Linked DNA regions of Homo sapiens: region 2 is linked to region 1. Evidence: promoter capture Hi-C in human tissues and cell types (Jung and others, 2019). All regions are on one chromosome and are shown on one strand. Each heading gives the region's core, a stretch centred on a gene start or on the middle of the fragment in contact. The rest is flanking DNA. Distances are from core to core; before and after follow the strand shown. Region 1 holds the start of KRT84 (keratin 84). Region 2 holds the start of KRT7 (keratin 7).

Region 1 (4,132 bases), core at 601-3,100:
AATCCACAGGGCACAGAAATGGCATTTGAAGTGCTTGATAGGGTTCATGCCTTGACCAAGCTCTTGAGATGGCCAGCGATGACTTGACCACATGTCGACAGGGTTCTCTCCTCTGCTGACTTTCATTCCTCCACTAACTCAGCAGAAGCTGGAAGGGCAGGTTGTGACTCCCTCCTTGTGCTCGGCTAGGCCTAGTTACCAATATGGGGTTTTGAACCATAGCACTTCAGTACCATTCCCCTATCCAGTCTCTAAGAAAGCTGTACACTGGTACATCAGGAAGTTGGAAGGGTTGATTCTATTTAAGCTCTGGTTTGCCTATATCTGAAAACTGATGCCAGGCATCCCTGGCAGAGAATGGGGAGCAGAGTAAACTACATTTGGGGTGGGATATGGTACTGGGAGGTAGGAATTCTCAGATTGTAAGTCCTATCCAACATCGCAGATATTCCATTGGCTATGTGTAGAGCTGGAAGAGAACTTACAGACCCTTTACCCCAGCCCCTCATTTTAGAGAGGAAGAACCCAAAACTTACAGAGGTTATCCTTCATTCTCAGACATAACCATTCCATCTCCACATAGACATGGTGTGTGGGATGTCAGTTCTTTTGGGTTATCCACATCACTGTTCCCACTCATCTGCCTGGAAGCCAGTGACTACCAGTGGTCATTCCCTGCAATTTCCCTGAATCTAGGCAACTTGGCCGAATTTTGATACCCCATGTGGGGGTATGAATTCTTCTTCTTTTTTTAATTACTCAACTCCATTCTCTACTTTTCTAAGCCTGAATAGATGAGGCCACTCAGCCTCAGAAACTATGAAAACTTCATAAGGAACAAAAGGATCTCAAAGAATAAAACCTCTTAAGCATATACCAGCCAACACCTGGCTAAAGTCCCAGTGTTTCCAGCCTGTTTCAGAGACATTTCTAAGTGACCAGATGCAACATCTTAGTTTGTCGAGATGCCCTCGAGTTTGGCTGGATGCTCCTCTGTCCTCCAGAAGATATCAACACTGTCGGAATCTATCCCACCATGCAGCTCGTCCTCTGGCTTGGCCTTGCTCTGCAGCAGAGCAACCCATAAAGCATACCACAATGCCTGAGGTAGGCACTTGAAAGATCTGAGGTCAAGGTCAAGTCCCCAGAACCGGGCCAGTTCTTTTTAAGGGAAAGAGCACTCTAGCGCATTTTGGCTGTAATATTCCTAGACCCAGAGATTCAGCTATCATAGGTACCTTGTCAATGAAGGAGGCAAACTTGTTGTTGAGGGTCTTGATTTGCTCCTTCTCATCCTTCTTCACCCTCTGGGCATTGGGGTCAATCTCCAGGTTGAGGGGGGTCAGTAGGCTCTTGTTCACAGTCACAGCTGTGATAGATGGGGCTGCTGGGACTCCAACCCCTCCAACTCTGTAACCAAAGCCAGGGCCACCAAAGCCATAGCCAATGCCACTGCCAGCTCCAAAGCCCAGACCAACACAGCTGTCAGCCCTAGGCCCCAGACCAACACCTCTCCCATCACCAAAACCCATCCCACAGCCAGCACCAAAGCGGACTCCACAGTGGATGGGCCGAGAGCCTACAGCTGCTATCCGGGGTGAGTACGATCCAAAGGTGATGACACTCCGACTACCAAAGCTGCCAAGGCCCCGGAATCCAGGCCCACTCCAACAGGAGACAGAGTTGGCCCGGAAGCGATTCAGGTTCTGTGGTGTCATTGCTGAACAAGAGCTGAAGTTGCCCACCCGGTGACCAGAGCTGACTCGGTAGGAGCGGCAAGACATGATGGCTTCCTGGTTGGGAGCAAAAGAGCAAGTGTAGAATGGGTGAGCTGGAGCTGGGAGTCCCTCTGAGGCCAGTGGAACCCTTGCACCCCTTTTATGTGTGTGGTGATCTGAGGCTTGGCCCCATAAAAATGAAAAAATCCATTTGCAGGCATTTATGAGCTTGGGTAGTTAGCAGAAACTCTGCATGCCTATAACCTCCTTGACAATGAGTTAACTCAGACACACCTAGTCTCATTGGGATGAGGGCTGTAACAGCAAACCAATAAACATTAAAAACACATAAACATATAAACATTATAGTCTTTTTTTTCCCTATAAGTCTACCACAATTGCCATTAAGGGGACATTAATTTGCTTTGGTCATAAATGCAATAGGTTTTTTCACTGTGAGTGTGGCTAACCACCAGAAAGTTAGGATGGCGACAGCTCCAGCAAGAGGCTCACATGGGATGCATCCATGAAGATATAACCCCCTAAAGAGGTGGGAGTGTGTGCACATCTCCAAGTAAGAAGTGATATGGAGAAAATACAGTTTGTTGCATTTCTGCAAATCAATTAAATCATCAAAAAACCTTCTGCCATGTTTTATCCAATATGGCTGTTTAGTATACAAGAGTTGAATCTACAGTAAAGCTCATTTGGGCTAGTGTAGACACATCTGTGATTTGAGACACTCAGAGATATTCATTCATTCTACAGTTTTAGAGTGCCTGCTATGTATCCAGCAGTGTGCTTGCTGCTGAGGGTACAGAGATTACAAAGACAGTCTCTATCTTCATGGTAGTAGGGGAAGATTTATCTTAAATTTTTTTTTTTTTTTTAGAGACATGATCTAGTTGCCCAGGCTGGTCTTGAACTCCTGGGCTCAAGTGATCCTCCCGCCTCCGCCTCCCAGATAGCTGGGACTACAGGCATCCACCACCATGCCCAGCAGAACATTTATCTTGAGGATTTCCAGCAGTCAACACTTTGTGGCATGATTTGAGGCCAAAGCATTGGAAAGTTTCTGTATAGAAAGCTAACTACATGATTTTTAGCCCCCAAATATACCATAGGTGTGATTTATGGGCCTGTCCATTTAGGTTCCTTGAATTATTGATGAATCTTTGGTTAGGATAGAGAGACACAAAGCAATATACATCTGGATAGAAAAGGAAAAGTTCTCAGCAGCTGAATATTATCATTGTTAGCAATATTGCAGCTCTTTTAGGACCCTGAGCCAGGCTGGTGTTTACCTTTTCTATTCTAGTGCATCCTTTGCCCAGGGGAACTCATGTTTGACTGGACGCTTGAGATTCTTTGGGATGCTTGCAATTCCACTTGGAAGGGGATGTATGCTTTTGACCAGAAGCATCCAGCTCATTTGTGCGGTATTTTCTTTTTCCAGCTATCAGCTGTATGTCTAAGGGGGAAATGAAGCAGAAAAACAATAAGAAGTGCATACTTCTCGTCAAGACCACCAGTGGCCTCCATGTTAAATTCAATGGTCTGTCCTCAGTTCTCACTTTCTTCACATAGCTGACCATGCCCTTTCTCTTGAAACACGCTCTTCTTTTGATTTTCGGACACTACACTCTCTCGATTTCTTGCCACACTCTTTTCAGTCTTCTAAGCCAGTTCCTCCTCATATCCCCAACCTCTAGACACTGCAGAGTCCCTGGCTCAATCCTTGGGTATCTATTCTCTTCTTTAGACTCATTGCCTTGGTGATATTATACAGACTCAGGACTTTAAATACCATCTGTTCATTCATGACTGCCAAGGCACAACTCTATCCCAGACCTCCCTACCCCTAAACGCCACACATATATTTTAACCAACATCTCTATTTGGATATCAGATAGGCATCTCAAACTTAATACAGTTGTCCCTTGGTATCCCCAGGTAGTTGGTTCCAGGACCCCTTGTGGATACCAAAATCCATGGATGTTCGTCGAGCCTCCGATATACAATGGTGTAGTATTTGCATGTAACCCACACACATCCTTCTGTATACTTGAAATCATCACTGGATTATAATACCTAATACAATGTAAATGCTATGTAAATAGTTGTTATACTTTATTGACAAGAAAAAAGTCCGTACTTGTTCAGCACAGATGCAATTTTTTTAAGAGTTTCAATCTGCAGTTGGTTGAATCCACAAAGGTGGGAGCCACAGATACAGAGGGATGACTTTATGACCAAAACTGTTCTCCTAATTGTTCCTGCTAAATATGTTCCACTTGCCAACATCACTATCTCTGCAATAGTTCATGCCAGAAATCTTGGAGTCATCCTTTTGTCCTCTGTTTTTTATTTCCCTTTTCCCACATTCAATTCATTGGCAAATTCTCCCTTCAAAA
Region 2 (3,981 bases), core at 478-2,977, 150 kb before region 1:
CAGAGTTGAAGATGAGCCCTGAGGGGTGAGGAAGTTGGAGTGTGTGTGTGTGTAAATTAAACAATTGGTCTTTTTTGCCTGCTTGGGCGTTGGGGAAGGAGGGCAGTGAGATTCCTATGAATGCAAATATCACAGGACCAGGTAATCCGTATGCTCTTCAAGCTACAACCAGGCACAATTCCAGGTCGAATCTCTCTCGGTCTTATGCACACATACATGCTCCACAGCCGATACCACAGCAGGTCTCCTTGGGCACCCCTCCGCCTCTGGCCTGAGCTGACCCAACACCAATGGCTAGGGTCAGGAGGGGAGGCAGGGAGGGAGGCTGGTGAGCCTTCACTAAGATCACTGAGAAGGAGTGACAGTCTTTAGCCTCACTGGAAGTCCTTGTGCTTTAACTGAAATGGCCAAGCAGGAAGGACATTCCGTCCCCACCCTTGTCTCCCCCAAGGGCTTAGGTCTGAGGTAACGAACCTGGCCAGCTTATTGGGAGGGGCTAGAGGTGGGCTAAGGGCAGACGGAAGCCAGGCCTGAGAACAGGGTGTGGCAAGCATGGCTGGCCCTACCGGGAAGTGAGGCCAACACTCAGGCTTTGTCCGGTATTCGGTTCCAGCACTAGGATTACCCCTCTTGACTGGGTTTGAAACTGCTGGGAATTGTTTGGTGGTGGCTTCACGGGAGAAAGATGATGAAAGCTGAGGGCCTTTAAACAGGAAAATGGTGGAGGGAGCGGGAGGAGAGTTGAGTGCTAACAGAAGCACACGCACTCAGGCAGGCATGAAAATGTGTGCCATTGTGTAGCCACAGCTGCCCCCTCGCCCAGGATGCACGCACAGACCCCCATCTGTGTAAGCAGGCTCAGACATGCGGGTGCATATGCCTGGGGGTGTGAGCACAGCAGAGCCCAGAGGCCTGCAGGCGTGTGCACACATCCACAAAGTGTCCACACATCCACAAAGTGTCACAAATACACACAAGTGTCCCCTTCCTGTACAGGGACGCATAAAATAAATGGGCAGGAATATGAGTGGAGGGTCCGGGAGGTGAGGGTCCAGGGTAAGCATTCCCAAGGTCCCTGGGATTCCGATGCCTACTGGAGTGGGGAGGGGAGGAGCCAGAGGTGCGGTCGGTCGTGTGTCTCTCTCAGCCTAGTTTCTATGGGAAATGAAGTAGGAAGGAACGCAGCCAGGGAAACTAGCTGGGCCAGGAGGGGTCAGACCCCTGAACAAGTGAGCTGATCTCTCAAGGAGGAGCTGGATCGGTGTGAGGGAGAGCGGTAAGGAATGCCTTTCTGGCTTCAGCAGCCTGGAGGATGGGGACGTCTGGGCGTTGACTCCTGGGTTGGAACTTTTCAGCCCACCCCTTCCCCCAGTCTCTTGCCACTGGGTCTCTCTGCTTGGGCCTCAGGGATCTCTAGGTTCTTCACTCCCTCTCCAAGCATCCTCCTCCGGGAAGCCTTCCCTCACTGAGTCCGTTTCCAATGGGCTGGAACTGCGGTCCCCCGCTGTTCTCTGCGGCCGTCTAGGGATGGCGCTCCTGCCTACTCCGGACCATCCCTGCTTGGACTGAAAGCCTGGGCTTCGGCGGGGCGGGCGGGCAGAGGGCGGAGGGCGGCCCCAGGAGGGGCCTGGCAGCAGAGAAAGGTGGCCCGCGGCAGCCCCGCCCCTACCTGTGGAAGCCCAGCCGCCCGCTCCCGCGGATAAAAGGCGCGGAGTGTCCCCGAGGTCAGCGAGTGCGCGCTCCTCCTCGCCCGCCGCTAGGTCCATCCCGGCCCAGCCACCATGTCCATCCACTTCAGCTCCCCGGTATTCACCTCGCGCTCAGCCGCCTTCTCGGGCCGCGGCGCCCAGGTGCGCCTGAGCTCCGCTCGCCCCGGCGGCCTTGGCAGCAGCAGCCTCTACGGCCTCGGCGCCTCACGGCCGCGCGTGGCCGTGCGCTCTGCCTATGGGGGCCCGGTGGGCGCCGGCATCCGCGAGGTCACCATTAACCAGAGCCTGCTGGCCCCGCTGCGGCTGGACGCCGACCCCTCCCTCCAGCGGGTGCGCCAGGAGGAGAGCGAGCAGATCAAGACCCTCAACAACAAGTTTGCCTCCTTCATCGACAAGGTGAGCGGGACTGGACCTCGCCTCTCCTCGAGCCGCGCTCCAGACCACACCAGCCGCCCTAACTAGCCCTGCCTGCGCGCGGGCCAGGCGCTGGGGAGCACTGCCGCCCTTCTGTCTTTCCGCCAGTGTTGGGGACACGATCTGGGGGTCCTTCCTCCTTCGCATGAACCCCGTGGCTATTTTATCCCCTCGGTTTCCAAGCCCTCCCTTCCAGCAAGCTGCCCAGCTGCCCCTCCCTTTCCTCCCGGAGTGCGGGCCTGAGTCCTGTAGGGCTGCCCTCGCTGGCTGCCTGTTGGTCACCTGGACCAGTTTTGCCTCGGACTAGGAGTTCCAGAGGCCTAGGCCAGGAGTTCTCTCTCTGGGACCCTTTCCCTGAGAGAGGACCGTGTGGAGTCAGGAATGGAGTTGGATGGCACGCCCTTCCCAGAGGGGGAGACCCAGGCTCTCTCAGATGCTGATGCGGATGCAGATGCTGGAGATTAGAGCGGCAGTCGGTGGGGCGGGGGAGGGGGGGGGGCTCCCGCCCCTCCCCTCCCCCACCTGCCTGGTCCTCCAGCCTCCCTTAGGTGGCAGGAGGAGAGGTTATACCTGCCCTTGAAGACAGCCCAGTTGGGGGCAGGGAGTGGCAGAGAGGGCCCTCAAAAAGGGGTCCATTTTGGAGATATTTTTCCTGGCTGTTGGCCTCCGCCACACATGGGGCCGCTGGAGGGGGCGAGGGCAGACTTGACTGGTGGGTTTGGGAGGAGTGCTGCCAAAGCCAGGAACTCAGGGCTGGCCCTGCTGGGCTGTTCTGGCCAGGGCCCCCTTCCTCAGCTTAGACGAAGTGTACTCCCACACCCGCCTCCCTCACGTTCTCCTTTCCTTCGCCATTCACCCAGACCGGTCTTTTAGATTTCATAGGGGCCTCCCCAAGCTGCTCCAGGCCCAGGTTCCCCCATGTGTTGAGCTGCACCGTCTTACTCTCTGTGGTCCCCAGGGCCTGGGGCCCTGAGCTGCTGGTTTTGCAGAGGCCTCTATTGCCTCCCACCTCCAGTCATACCGGCTACTCCTTAAGGGCCTTTGTGGGCTCCAGGCTGGGGTCATTTTACCATGGATTGACTGTCCTGAGGCCTTGCTGGAGAAAGGGGAAGGAGAGAAAGGATATTGAGGAAGGAAGAGAAGAGGTCCCAGACAGAAGGGAGGGCTGGGCCTGGTCATCCTCATGATCCATTGACAGGAAGAGGTGGCTGTTCAGATAGGGAGGTGGAGAACACCACCTGTAATGTGATGGGGAGTGAAGTGGAGAGGAGGCCCTGGAGCACATTCGTCGAGAGTCAACCACGGGGCACTTCCGTGCACCAGGCAGACCTGCTTCCTGGATCACTCTGTAGGACACTTGATTTGGAGTCCAAAGGGAGAGGGCTGGAAGCCCCAGGCAGGGAAACAGCCAGGGGGAGCATGGCTCTGCTAAGTGGCTAAAGATGATGTTCCTCAATCCCGCTGTGGGTGGCACGCTCTGGCTCCTCTTGAGTTTCCTCCTTCTCGCCCGTTCTAGGTGCGGTTTCTGGAGCAGCAGAACAAGCTGCTGGAGACCAAGTGGACGCTGCTGCAGGAGCAGAAGTCGGCCAAGAGCAGCCGCCTCCCAGACATCTTTGAGGCCCAGATTGCTGGCCTTCGGGGTCAGCTTGAGGCACTGCAGGTGGATGGGGGCCGCCTGGAGGCGGAGCTGCGGAGCATGCAGGATGTGGTGGAGGACTTCAAGAATAAGTAATGCCCCCTGTGCCACATGCGAAGACCCCTGCCCCGGGCCAATGTGACCCTCATGAGCTGACCCTGTGCAAGTCCCCCTGCTTCAGGAATCAGCATGCAGCTGCTCAGTCCAATAACTCCCTGAGGG

Evidence for each region. The method cuts DNA at HindIII sites, captures the fragments that hold promoters and counts their contacts. A contact is called where the count stands out against the background at its distance.
Region 2: a contact is called between the fragment with the promoter of KRT7 here and the fragment with the promoter of KRT84 in region 1, in 1 of the 25 tissues and cell types used here (adrenal gland).

What each region holds. Positions count from the first base shown.
Region 1 is chr12:52,383,802-52,387,933 of GRCh38, forward strand. KRT84 (keratin 84) reads right to left here and starts at 1,851. Exons shown (of 9, transcript NM_033045.4): 1 at 1,239-1,851. The coding sequence starts at 1,784. The HindIII fragment of the contact is 12,479 bases long and covers 1-4,132 here.
Region 2 is chr12:52,231,516-52,235,496 of GRCh38, forward strand. KRT7 (keratin 7) reads left to right here and starts at 1,728. Exons shown (of 9, transcript NM_005556.4): 1 at 1,728-2,105; 2 at 3,640-3,851. The coding sequence starts at 1,782. It also overlaps the pseudogene TMT1AP1. RefSeq lists an enhancer at 2,314-3,289. The HindIII fragment of the contact is 11,918 bases long and covers 1-3,981 here.